Regions from separate parts of the Homo sapiens genome. Here region 2 is linked to region 1. The links are contacts of gene promoters, found by promoter capture Hi-C in human tissues and cell types (Jung and others, 2019). All regions are on one chromosome and are shown on one strand. The core of a region is centred on a gene start or on the middle of the fragment in contact, and the rest is flanking DNA. Distances in the headings are between cores, read along the strand shown.

The links. Contacts are between HindIII fragments. The study calls those that stand out against the background at their distance.
Region 2: a fragment that was not itself captured here is called in contact with the fragment with the promoter of TMEM14C in region 1 in 1 of the 25 tissues and cell types used here (IMR-90 fibroblasts).

The regions. Positions count from the first base shown.
Region 1 is chr6:10,718,075-10,724,319 of GRCh38, reverse strand. TMEM14C (transmembrane protein 14C) reads right to left here and starts at 1,250. Exons shown (of 6, transcript NM_016462.4): 1 at 1,079-1,250. RefSeq lists an enhancer at 354-1,250 and silencers at 1,190-1,319, 3,564-3,703, 4,034-4,193. The HindIII fragment of the contact is 20,984 bases long and covers 1-6,245 here.
Region 2 is chr6:10,441,014-10,447,886 of GRCh38, reverse strand. All of the region lies in intron 1 of MIR5689HG (MIR5689 host gene), which reads right to left. Among named protein-coding and RNA genes, the nearest start is that of MIR5689, 4.7 kb to the right of the region's middle. RefSeq lists enhancers at 6,151-6,651, 6,652-6,873. The HindIII fragment of the contact is 3,588 bases long and covers 2,305-5,892 here.

The DNA of each region.
Region 1 (6,245 bases), core at 1-2,500:
ATAGGCCCACGGGAAACTCAGCAAGATCCACTGACCAGCTCTAAAATCAGGGAATGTGTTAGTCATTTCATCAGCTACCCATGTTATCACTAAATTCAAAAGCAAATACTCCCGTGCCCTTAATCCAACTACTTTAATGTCTCTTTTGAGGGGAGGTAGGGGTGTTGCTTTTCATCCCTGCTGCAACAGCCAATTTCAAAGCTCAACTTTTTTAGAAACTTCTGCGTCCAACTCACAGTTCTTGTTAGGAGGGCAGTAGTAGGAGAGGATAAAATATACGGAAACAGTGGTCATATTCACATGTGACACTACACCCTTGGAAAAACAGCTTCTATTTTCTTACAGAAAGTATCCTGTGTCCAGTGAGCCAAAAGATGAAAGCAATGCATACCCCGTTTATTCTGTTTAAAGAATTAGGCCAAGCGCAGTGGCTGACGCCTGTCATCCCAGTACTTTAGGAGGCCGAGGCGGGCGGATCACCTGGGGTTAGGAGTTCAAGACCAGCCTGGCCAACATAGTGAAACCCATTGTCTACTAAAAAATATAAAAAAATTAATCGCGCATGGTGATATGCGACTGTAAATCCCAGCTACTTGGGAGGCTGAAGTGGGAGGATGGCTTGAGCCCAGGAGGCAGAGGCTGCAATGAGACATATTCAGGCAACTGCACTCAAGCATGGGCGACAGAGCAAGTCCCTCCCTCAAGGACAAAAAAAAAAAAAAAAAGAATTAAGTTTCCATAAAACAGGGAAGGGCAGCGGGCTTGGGATCTTGCCCACAGTTCTTAACTCGAGACGGCACCGAGTAAGGGAGGCTTTTAAAGAGATGGAGCAAGAAAATCACCAAGAAACGAGGCAACACTATGCTACATGGGTAAGCCTTTGCCTCAGGAGCCCAGGGGCTCCGCGCATCCACAACTTCTTTTAAAAGCAGAAAATACCCAACGAGAAAAGCACCGACCACACGGCCTGAAGGCCCGCTGAATCGGGGGGACGAAAAGCAGACGGCCGTGAAACTCCTAAATAATCCCTAAAAGTTAAAAGTGGCAGAAAATAAGAATAATCCCCAAATACTCGCACCGGTCTCACGAAGGCCCCGGCTGTCTACAAGGGCGCGCAAGCCGCAGGAATGACTGCGAGGTGTCGCCGGAAATGCAGCGGCGGGCGCTCTCCGTCCCGGTGGCGGGGCGAGGAGAGGGGAGCGGCTCTGTTGTGCCTGCGCAGTGTACCGGGAGAGGGGCGGTCAGAGAATGGGGACGGTGCGGGCGGGGCTTGAGCCGCCAAGTAGCAGCATGCGCCCTGCATTCAGCGGGTGGAGAGTGGGGCGGGGCATCGCGGCGAGCTCCTGAGTCCAGGGAACGCGGCGGGGAATCTCTGTGCTTCCCCTGTCCGCAGCGCCTGCAGGGCCGACCAGTATCAGTCCCAGGTCCAATCCTGAGTGGCCAAAAGCAGGAGACCCGGAGTTGGACCTGGGACTTGCACAAGCCGGACCACGTGAGCTCGGCCACGCCAGAGGTGAGGCCACCGCTGCGGGACCAGGGAATCTGAGGCTGGATTTTGAAGGACCCCATTAATAGAGGAACAAGTTACAGGGTATAAACCAGATGCAGGCCATCAGGGAGGAGTGTCACTCAAGCCCGATCTTGTCTACACCAGGAAGGGCCTGCCTGGAAGAAAATACGGGGGCTGCAGAATAATGTGGCTCAAAGCCAAATATCCGTTTGTTTTAGGGAGTGAGGCTGCTTGAGAAGCATCTTAAAGGGGGATGGGGAGTAAGTTAAACCTGATTTTTACCCAGCTCTGTGGACCCAAAATATCCACAGCATATTATCTCCATTCCCACTTGGAGTCACTCCTATTCCGTTTCCTGCACCACCATTCTCTTAGTTGCTCTACACTAAAATTTGCTGTCATCGTTGACTTCTCCCTCTCCATCCCCTACAAGTATCAACATACACAAATCTGACCAATATAATTGTCAGTGAATAAAGCGAATTCCAGCCAAGTTTTTTTTTTTTTTATGTGGAGTCTCACTCTATTGCCCAGGCTGGAGTGCAGCGTATGATCTTGTCTCACCACTACCTCTGACTCCCATGTTCAACTGATTCTCCTGCCTCAGCTGCCTGAGTAGCTGGGATTATAGGCCTGTACCACCACCCCTGGCTGCCAGGCTAATTTTTGTTATTTTTAGTGGAGATAGTGAGAGATCACAACGTGCCAGTGTGTTCAAAATTGATGGCTTCTTGGTCTGACTTGAGAAAGCTGCAGACCCTCGCGATGAGTGTTAGTTCTTAAAAGCAGTGTCTCTAGAGTTTTTCTTCCGATGTTTAGAAGTATTCAGGGAGTTTTTCTGCTGGTGGGTTTGCTGTCTCACTGGCTCAACGAGCAAAGCTACAGACCTCTGTGGTGGATGTTAAAGCTCTTAAGGCAGTGTGTCTGGAATTGTTTGTTCTTCCCGGTGGGATCGTGGTCTCCCTAGCTTTGGACTGGCTCAAGGAGCAAAGCTACAGACTTCTATAACGAATGTTAAAGCTCTTAAGGCAGTGCGTCTGGAATATGTTTGTTCTTTCCGGTGGGATCGTGGTCTTCGTAGCTTTGGGAGCAAAACTGCAAATCTTCGCAGTGAGCGTTACCACTTGTAAAGACAACACAGGACCTAAGCACCGAGCAACAGCAATATTTGTTGCAAAAAGAAAAAGAGAAAGAACAAAGCCTCCTCCACATAGAAGAAAACCCAAGTGCGTTACAACTACTGGCTTGGGCAGCCTGCTTTTATTCTCTTATCTGGCCCCACCCACATCCTGCTGATTGGTAGAGCCGAGTGGTCTGTTTTGACAGGGTGCTGATTGGTGCGTTTACAATCCCTGAGCTAGATACAAAAGTTCTCCACGTCCCCACCAGATTAGCTATAGAGTGTCCACACAAAGGTTCTCCAAGGTCCTGCCAGAGTAGCTAGATACAGAGTGTGGATTGGTGCATTCACAAACCCTGAGCTAGACACACGGTGCTGACTGGTGTGTTTACAAACCTTGAGCTAGATACAGAGTGCCGATTGGTGTATTTACAATCCCTAAGCTAGACATAAAGGTTCTCCACGGTCCCCACCAGAGTAGCTAGATACAGTGTCCATTGGTGCATTCACAAACCCTGAGCCAGACACAGGGGGCTGATTGGTGTGTTTACAAACCTTGAGCTAGATATAGAGTGCCAATTGGTGTATTTACAATCCCTGAGCTAAACATAAAGGTTCTCCACCTCCCCACCAGACTTAACCCAGCTGGCTTCACCCAGTGGATCCCACACCAGGGCTGCAGGTGGAGCTGCCTTCCAGTCCTGCGCCCTGCGCCCACACTTCTCAGCTCTTGGGTGGTTGATGGGACTGGGCCCTGTGGAGCAGGGGGTGGTGCTCATCAGGGAGGCTCGGGCCCTACAGGAGCCCACGGAGGTGGTGGGAGGCTCAGGCATGGCGGGCTGCAGGTTCCGAGCCCTGCCCCGTCGGAAGGCAGCTAAGGCCCCGCGAGAAATCCAACGCAGCGCCGGTGGGCTGGCACTGCTGGGGGACCCAGTACACCCTCTGCAGCCGCTGGCCTGGGTGCCAAGCCCCTCATTGCCCAGGGCCGGCCGGCCGGCTGCTCCGAGTGCGGGGCCCGCCAAGCCCACGCCCACCCGGAACTCCAACTGGCGCGGAAGCGCCGCGCGCAGCCCTGGTTTCCGCTCGCGCCTCTTCCTCCACACCTCCCTGCAAGCTGAGGGAGCCAGCTCTGGCCTTGGCCAGCCCAGAAAGGGGTTCCCACAGTGCAGCGGTGGGCTAAAGGGCTCAAGTGCCTCCAAAGTGGGAGCCCAGGAAGAGGAGGCGCCGAGAGCGAGGGCTCTGAGGACTGCCAGCACGTCGTCACCTCTCACTAGCAGCCTTCGCTTGCTCTCGGTGCCTCCTTAGCATCGGCCAGGCTCGAGGAGCCCTTCAGCCCGCCGCTGCGCTGTGCGGGGCCCTCCCTGGGGCTGGCCGAGACCGGAGCCGGCTCCATCTGCTCGTGGGGAGGCGTGGAGGGAGAGGCGCAGGCGGGGACTGGGGCTGCGCTGCCCCGGGTTCCAGGTGGGCGCAGGCTCGGTGGGCCCCGCACTTGGCGCGACCTGCCGGCCCCTGCTGGGCTTGATCGGAGGCTGGGTCCAGTGCGTGGACCGCCGTTCCCTCTTGGCGGGGTCGTTGGCCACGATGGCGGGTCTCTGTCTCTCTCCTCCTCTTTTCCTCTTGGTTGTGTGGGAGGAGCTCCCGGAGTGCCCAGGCTAGTTGCCAAAAAGTCCCACCCAACTCCCAGCGAGAGGTGAAGCCCGCTGGGCTTCTGGGACGGGTGGGGACTTGGAAAACTTTTGTGTCTAGCTAAAGGATTGTAAATGCACCAGTCAGCAGTTTTTTGTCTAGCTAAAGGTTTGTAAACGCACCAATCAGCGCTCTGTGTCTAGCTAATCTGGTCAGGACTTGGAGAACTTTTGTATCTAGCCAAAGGATTGTAAACGCACCAATCAGCACTCTGTGTCTAGCTAAAGGTTTGCAAATGCACCAATCGGCACTCTGTAAAATGGACCAATCAGCTGGATGTGGGTGTGGCCAGATTAGGGAATAAAAACTGGCCACCCACAGCCAGTAGGGGAAACGTGCTTGGGTGTTTTCTTGGGCTGACAGAGCTTTGTTCTTTTGCTTTTTGCAATAAATGTTGGTGCTGATAGTTCTTTAGATCCGTGCAATGTTTATGAGTTTTAATACTCACCGTGATAAGGCTACAGTTTTGCTTCTGAAGCTAGTGAGACCACAAACCCACTGAAAGCAGATGAAAAACTGGATGTGCCACCTTTATGAACTGTAGCACTGACTGCAGAGGTTGGTGGTTTTATTGCTGAGGCTAGCAGAGAGCACAAACCCACCAGAAAGAACAAGTAACTGCAGATGTGCCACCTCTAAGAGGTGTAACACTCACTGCAAAGGCCTGCAGCTTCATTCCTGAAATCAGTGAGACCGTGAACCCACCAGTAGGAAGAAACTAGATAATGTCTGAATGTCGGAAGGAACAAACTTTGGACCCACCATCTTTAACAGTTGTAACATTCAATCATGAGGGTCTGTGGCTTTATTCTTGAAGTCAGCAAGACGAACCCACAAAGTCCAGACACAATGGGGTTTCACCATGTTGGCCCAGCTGGTCTCAAACTCTTAATCTCATCTGCCCACCTCAGTCTCCCAAAGTGCTGGGATTAGAGGCATGAGCTGCTTTGCTGGCCTTTGTAGCATGGTTTTTGCTTTTTTTTTTTTTTTTGAGATGGAGTTTTGCTGTTGTAGAAAGTAGAAAAGCTTCTCTTCAAACCTTGTCTTGGTTTAAAAATAGACACCAGGAATAATCACATCTTACTCCAAAGCCTGCTATCAACTGTTAGTTCTTACGATTTAGCCCAGTTAGTTGCTTTGGCTTATTCAGGCATGTCTGGACAGGCCCAAGCAAGTCTCAGCTCATATTTTATGCCCCTTCCTTATTTGGAAATGTTATTATTTCCTTAAACCTTTCATAAGCAACTTAGTCTCCTTTATCCTCCCTTGCACCTAACTATTTAGGAAAGTTTCAGGTTGTTAGCAAATTGGAAATTTAAGACCGAGGTCCAGCACCAGTCAATGCATGCAGGACACAGCAGTAAGGAGGACCCAAATGTGTAAACCCTCTGCTTTTCCTTTGTTCAAGTGTGCTATTGCCGTTGTTCCATCTGTGAGAAGCACCCTTTCTGCAGGAAGTGAAAATGGCCTTGCTGAGAGAATTAAATTTATGTTTGAGTGCTATTTTGTGGTGCTGGGGAACAAGCATTTCTAACAGTTGCCCAGGCTGGAGTGCAGTGGCATGATCTCAGCTCACTGCAACCTTTGCCTCTCAGGTTCAAGTGATTTTCCTGCTCAGCCTCCTGAGCGGCTGAGATTACAGATGTGTGGCACCATGCCTGGCTATTTTTTGTGTTTTTAGTAGAGACAGTGGTTCACCATGTTGGCCAGGCTGGTCCCACACTCCCAGCCTCAAGCAATCTGCCTGCCTGGGCCTCCCACAAGTGTCGGGATTACAGGTGTGAGCCACCATGCCCGGTCGCGGCGTATATTCTTAAAGACAAACTTTCCACTTGTGGCAGCACCTACCTTGCAGATAGCAAAATTGAAGCCCTTGTTTATCACAGCTGATTCTAACCAGCCAACGCTGATAATGACTAAGAACTTGCA
Region 2 (6,873 bases), core at 2,849-5,348, 280 kb after region 1:
TATTTTTTATCTCAAAATATTATTATTTCTGCATTGACTTTTATATAGAAAGAGACATTCTAAAAATTATTGGACTAAATCTAGAATCAATTTTGAAATCATAATACCATACACTAAACAGATGGAAATATCGGCAATATTTGATCAAATACTTGGTGTAATTACAGTAAAGCAATTTACAGAACTGATGAGAACAGAATTACAATTTGTATCAAATTAATGCCCTGAAACAAAACTACATTAATTGTTATATCATGTTAGTGATCTCTGTTGCTACCCAAAGACTAAATGGTCGGGGGAGGAAAAGGGGCAAGAAATTTAATTTCATTTAAATTGTGACAGTGTTCCTATACAGTATTTTATTCACTTGAATGGGTCAAAAGAATACCGCATGCTCAGCCAATTATCTGCTATGCAAAATTATTCTTAATTCTATGTGAGAATTGTAGACAGTGGGTTGAGGAGGTGGAAGTAAAAGCTGCATAGATGCAAATAGTTAAAGGTCGTTATCTACGTACCAAATCTAACTCGAGAAGAAAATCTTAAGATACTGTTTTATAGCTGAATGTGCTTCACCCACAGAGGAGCTCAGCGTTATCCCTGGGCCTTGGAAATAAGGGTGCAATGGACTGAATGCTTATCTCCCCTCCAAATTCATACACTGGTATTCTAATCCCCAAGGTGATGGTATTAGCAGATGGGGCCTTTGGGAGGTGACTAGGACATGAGGGTGGAGCACTTGTGAGTGGGATTAGTGCCCTTACAGAGAGACTGCAGAGAGCTCCCTTGCCCCTTCCACCATGTGAGGACACAGGGAGAAGATGGCTGTCTGTGAACTGGGAAACAGGCCCTCATCAGACACTGAGTCAGCTGAGGTATTGATCTTGGACTTCCCAGCCTTCAGAACTGTGAGAAATAAATTTCTGTTTAAAAGACACCCAGTTTCAGGTATTTTTGCCATAGTAGCCCAAACAGACTAACAGTGGATATAATTTTGTTGAGCCAGTTATAAAATCCAAGTCCAAGTCAAAACTGCAGGCTGATATTAGCTGGGCATGGTGGTGCATGCCTGTAGTTCCAGCTACTCCAGAGGCGGAGGTGGGAGGATGGCTTGGGCCCCAGAGGTCAAGGCTGCTGTGAGTGGTGATCACACCAATGCACACCAGCCTGGGGGACAGAGCAAGACCCTGTCTGAAAAACACAAAAATACAAAAAACTTGCAGGCTCCAAAACTACCTGAACTTCAACCTACCTTCTTTCAATACAATGCCCAGAACATAGTCTCTCTCAATGACCCAGTCAAGCTTAAAAAAAAAAAAAAGAAAAAAAAAGCATCACCACTTCTCTCTTCAAAATCTAGCCTTGATATATATTTTGAGGGGATGCATTCTGAAGTGTGTCAGCATGATACATCGTATCATCTGCAACTTACTTTCAAATGGCTTAGGAAAAAAATATGGTATCTGCTGTCTATTTATCTACCTACCTATCTATCAAGAGATAAGCAAACATGATGAAATAATAACAGTTGTTAAATCCATGTGAGGGGTATTTGGCTGTTTGTGTGCTATTTTTCAGCTTTTCTGATTGAGCTTACTTTTTTAAAAAGGCAGGAAAAAGTATGTGGCCTTGACTGTGAAGACAGACAAGAAACAGCTGAGCCCCTCTTGTTTCTCGATACATCAAAAATGCGGGACACATGGTCAGTGCTAATACATAGTCCTTAAACTTAAGAAGTTCCTAAAAATTAACTTTGCTTGTGGAGTGTCAAACCGGAAATCAGTTAAAACAAAGAAAAATTTGAGATTTTTCTGGGGAAAAAAATTTCATCTTGATTTTCTGAGTTACCCCAGCCCACTGTCCCTGAATACGCCTCTTGTCCTGGTAAAGGGTGTCACCCTTGTCCCCCAGGATCTCTGTTTTTCTTTTGAGACAGAGTTTCACTCTTGTCTCCCGGCTAGAGAGCAATGGCACGATCTTGGCTCACTGAAACCTCTGCCTCCCAGGTTCAAGCGATTCTCCTGCCTCAGCCTCCCAAGTAGCTGGGATTACAGGCATGCACCACCATGCCTGGCTAACTTTTTGTATTTTTAGTAGAGATGGGGTTTCACCATATTGAGCAGGCTGGTCTTGAACTCCTGACCTCATGATCCACCCATCTTGGCCTCCCAAAGTGCTGGGATTACAGGTGTGAGCCACTGCGCCCGGCCCAGGATCTCTTATACAGTAGAATTCTACTCTGTTATTAAAGAGGTAAGCATAAGCTATTCCAAAACCAAGAAAGAACACAACCCTAAGTGCCCAGAATGGTGAACAATTAAAGAGCTTTAACTGCTTGCCAGAGTCTTTATGTTACTTACATAGAAACCTATAAAAGAGGCCGGGTGTGGTGGCTCATGCCTGTAATCCCAGCACTTTGGGAGGCCGAGGTGGGTGGATCACGAGGTCAGGAGTTCGAGACCAGCCTGGTCAATATGGTGAAACCCCATCTCTACTAAAAATACAAAAGTTAGCCAGGCATGGTGGCGCACACTTGTAGTCCCAGCTACTCAGGTGGCTGAGTCACGAGAATCTCTTGAACCTGGGAAGTGGAGGTTGCAGTGAGCCAAGTTCATGCTACTGCACTCCAGCCTGGGCAATGGAGTGAGATTGTCAAAAAAAAGAACAGGCCAAGGAAAATAAATGGAGACAGGGTCTGCATGTACTACAGGTGAAAGAAATTTTCAGAAACTACAAAAAAGATTAGCTGGGCCCGTAGTCCCAGTTACTCGGGACGCTGAGGCAGAAGAATCACTTGAACCCGAGAGGCGGAGGTGGCAGTGAACCGAGATGGCGCCACTGCACTCCAGCCTGGGCGACAGGGCGAGACTCCGTCTCAAAAACAAAAACAGAAACAAAAACCTATAAAAGAGAATAGCCCTGTAAGTTTTTGAGAAGTAATGCATTTTGGGGAAGAGTCATGCTCGTTTCCTCCAACCTCTGAGAAAAACACAATTGTTCTAGATACTTCTCCAGTGTTAATTCAAAGATGGCAGTGGTAATACAAAAGTGGCTGAGTCACGTGTCAAGTCAAAAAGCTAGTCTTAGATATGACTTTAAATTTCTCTTTTTCATCCCTTTGGTCCTTTAGAAACATTCACTGGAATGAGTATTAAAGTCTGATAATTTCAGACACTTGTTTATTCTTTGGCCTAAGTATATACCCTCACGGAGTTTTCTGTAATATTCATGTCAGAATCATTCCTTTATAGTTTCTGCAGTCATTGGTTGAGGAATGTCTTATTCATTTCATTCATTCAAAAAGCTTTTATTGAAGCTCTATGATATGCCAGTGTTTGGGAAACGAATGCAATATAAGAGCCTTCCATTACTGACAGATTTTTCTCCTTGCAACTTCTCTGCCTTCCCACTGCCCCAACTTCATGGGAATACCTCCTACAGAAATATGTAAGTTATAGCAGAAGCTCTTTGTTAGAACTCCTAATTCTAATTCGAGATCAATTTTTTTCAACATTTTATTATAAAACCTTTTAAGCATAGCTCAGAATTGAAGAAACTGTACGGTGAACACTCATATGCTCACCAGCTAGATTCAACAATAAACATTCTTCTGTACTTCATTTACTATTTATCCATTTATCCAGCTGTTTATCCACCCACCAATCTATCTTGTCTTTTTTTTTTTTTTTTCTGAGATGGAGTCTCACTCTGTTGCCCAGGCTGGAGTGCAGTGGCATGATCTCGGCTCACTGCAACCTCTGCCTCCCGGGCTCAAGTGACTCTCCTGCCTCAGCCTTTTGAGTAGCTGGGATTACAGGTGTGCACCACCATGCCCGGCTAATTTTTGTATTTTTAGTAGAGACGGGGTCTCATCATGTTGGCCAGCCTGGTATTGAACTTCTGACCTCAGGTGATCCACCCGCCTTGGCCTCCCAAAGCATCTTGTCTTTTTAATGCATTTCTAAGTATGTTGCAGTCAGCAATACACTTCTCCCCATATGTTCCAACATGCATATCTTTTATTAGAGTTCAATGTTGGTTGATTTCTTCTTCTTTTGAGGTAAAATTTAAATACAAAAAATGCACAGTTTATAAGTGTGCCATTCAGCAAGTTGCAAGGAAGGCCATGTATACAAGCAAGGCAAACCCCTGGTGAGATCCAGTACCTTAAGACTGCCCTGAAAGCTCCCCTGCACAGCTGGTCCCCAACCCCATGGCCCAACTCCCAAAGGTAACCCTTTCTCTGGATTCCCCTGCCCCCACCTTAGATTAGTCCATAGATTAGTTTTGCTTGTTCTAGGATGATAAATATATAAACAGTATGTGCTTTCTTGTGTAAGGCTTCTTCCATTCAGTACAACATTTTTGGAATTCATCATGATGTTGTATGTATCAATGGTTCCTCCCCCCACCCCCCCTTTTTTTTTGAGACAGAGTCACCCAGGCTGGAGTGCAGTGGCACAATCTCAGCTCACTGCAACCTCTGCCTCCTGGATTCAAGCTGATTCTCCTGCCTCAGCCTTTCGAGTAGCTGGGATTGGAGGTGCGTGCCACCACACCTGACTATTTTTGTATTTTTAGTAGAGATGGGGTTTCACCATGTTGGCCAGGCTGGTCTCGAACTCTTGACCCCAGGTGATCCACCCACCTCGGCCTCCCAATGTGCTGGGATTACAGGTGTGAGCCACCGCGCCCAGCCGGTTCCTCCCTTTTTTATTGTGTAGTATTTCATTGTCTGAATTTACCACAGTTAGTTTATTCATTCTCCTATTGGTTGTTTTCAGCTTTCAGTTATTTATGAATAAAGCTATGGACATTTTTGAACAAGCCTCTTTGAGGACATATGCTTTTATTTCTCCCGGGTGAGTAACCTAGGTGTGGAATTGCCAGGTCATAATGTAGGTGCAGTCAGCCTTCCCTATCCGTGGGTTCCACATTCATGGACTCAGCAAATATTCATGAATTCAATAAAAAATCAAGGGGTGGGAGGAAAGGATGATCATGTCTGTATGGAATATGTATAGACTTTTTTCTTGTTATTATTTCCTAAACTGTATACAGTATAATTATGCTCACTATCTGAGTGATGGGATCAATTGAACTCCAAACCTCAGCATCATGCAATACACTTATATAACAAACCTGCATATGTACCACCTGAATCTAAAATGAAAGTGGAAATTATTTTTTTAAATACAGTATAACAACTGTTTACATAGTCTTCACCTTGTACTAGGTATTATAAGTAATCTAGAGATGATTTAAAGTATACAGGAGGATGTGTGTGGGTTATATGCAAGTACTACCCTGCTTTATATCAGATTCCTGAGCATCTGTGATTTTGGTACTTGCAGGGAGACCTGGAACCAGTCCCCTGCAGATACTGATGGACAACTGTATATGTTTAGTTTTAAAAGAAATTGTGGGCTGGGCATGGTGGCTCACGTCTGTAATCCTAGCACTTTGGGAAGCCGAGGTGGGCGGATCACTTGAGGTCAGGAGTTTGAAACCAGCCTGGCCAACATGGTGAAACCCTGTCTCTACTAAAAATACCAAAAAATTAGCCGGGAGTAGTGGCAGGCGCCTGTAATCCAAGCTACTCAGGAGGCTGAGGCAGGAGAATTGCTTGAACCTGGGAGGCAGAGATTGCAGCGAGCCAAGATCACGCTACTACACTCCAGCCTGGGGGACAAGAGTGAGACTCTGTCTCACAAAAAAAAAAAAAAAGTAAATTGCAAAATCCTTTTCAAGATGTATTTTTAAATCGATAAAACACTAACTTAGTATACATTTAGATTAAGAAAAACATTACTATATAGGTTGACCAATGTGATATGGTTTGGCTCCGTGTGGCCACACAAATCTCATGCAAATTGTAATTCCTAATGTTGGGGGAGGGACCTGGTGGGAGGTGATTGGCTCATGGGGGAGAATTTCCCCCTTGCTGTCCTCATGATAGTGAGTGAGTTCTCATGAGATCTGGTGGCTTAAAAGTGTGTAGCGCTTCCCCCTTTGCTCTCTCTCCTGTTGCCATGTGAAGATGTGCTTGCTTCCCCTTTGCCCCATGCCGTGACTGCAAGTGTCCTGAGGCCTCCTCAGCTGTGCTTCCTGTACAGTCTACGGAACTGAGTCAATTAAACTTCTCTTCATATATTACCCAGTCTCAGGTATTTTTTTTTTATAGCACTGTGAGAACAGACTAATACATAATGCTAAATGTCTCAACATTCTCTACTCTTTGGGTGAATATTTGCTTACGTAAGCTGTGGAGAGAAGAAAATTAACAAAGCTAGGGAAAGCTCTCTGGGCCACCATCCACTACTAGTGTTGCCTTAATTATTAATCCTACATCATTTTAGAGTTTGTACTTCAATGGCAATGCGTATTCCTCCAGGAATGGAATGCAGTTTCATCAGAACTTTCTCCTGACACGCCTTGTGGCTCTGAGTCACAGACGTTTTTCTTAAAGGGAGTGTCTTTCATCTCAGGGCCTCAAGCTGCCCGTCATTCCCCCATAGTCCAGAGATCCCCCTCCCCTGTGATCACATTCCAGCTTGCACCCTGTCTCCTCACTCCCTTTCCTTCTATTTCCTGCAGCCACTGCTGAACTACCGCATGCCAGCTCTCTGGCTTTCTAGGGTTTGCCATTTCACAAGGCTTAGCCTCAGATTTTATAAGGTTTATTGGTAAATTGCAGAATGAGAGGTTTTATCTTGTGTTACAGGAATTTCAGGCAGAAGCAAGCAGATGGCGTAACAGGCCAGTCCAAGCACAACACAATCCACAGGCCAGGGCTCAAAGCTCATGTTACCTGCCTCTACCAGGCACTGAGCTGACACCCTGGGCACACCTCTCAATCTCCCAGTCTTCCTC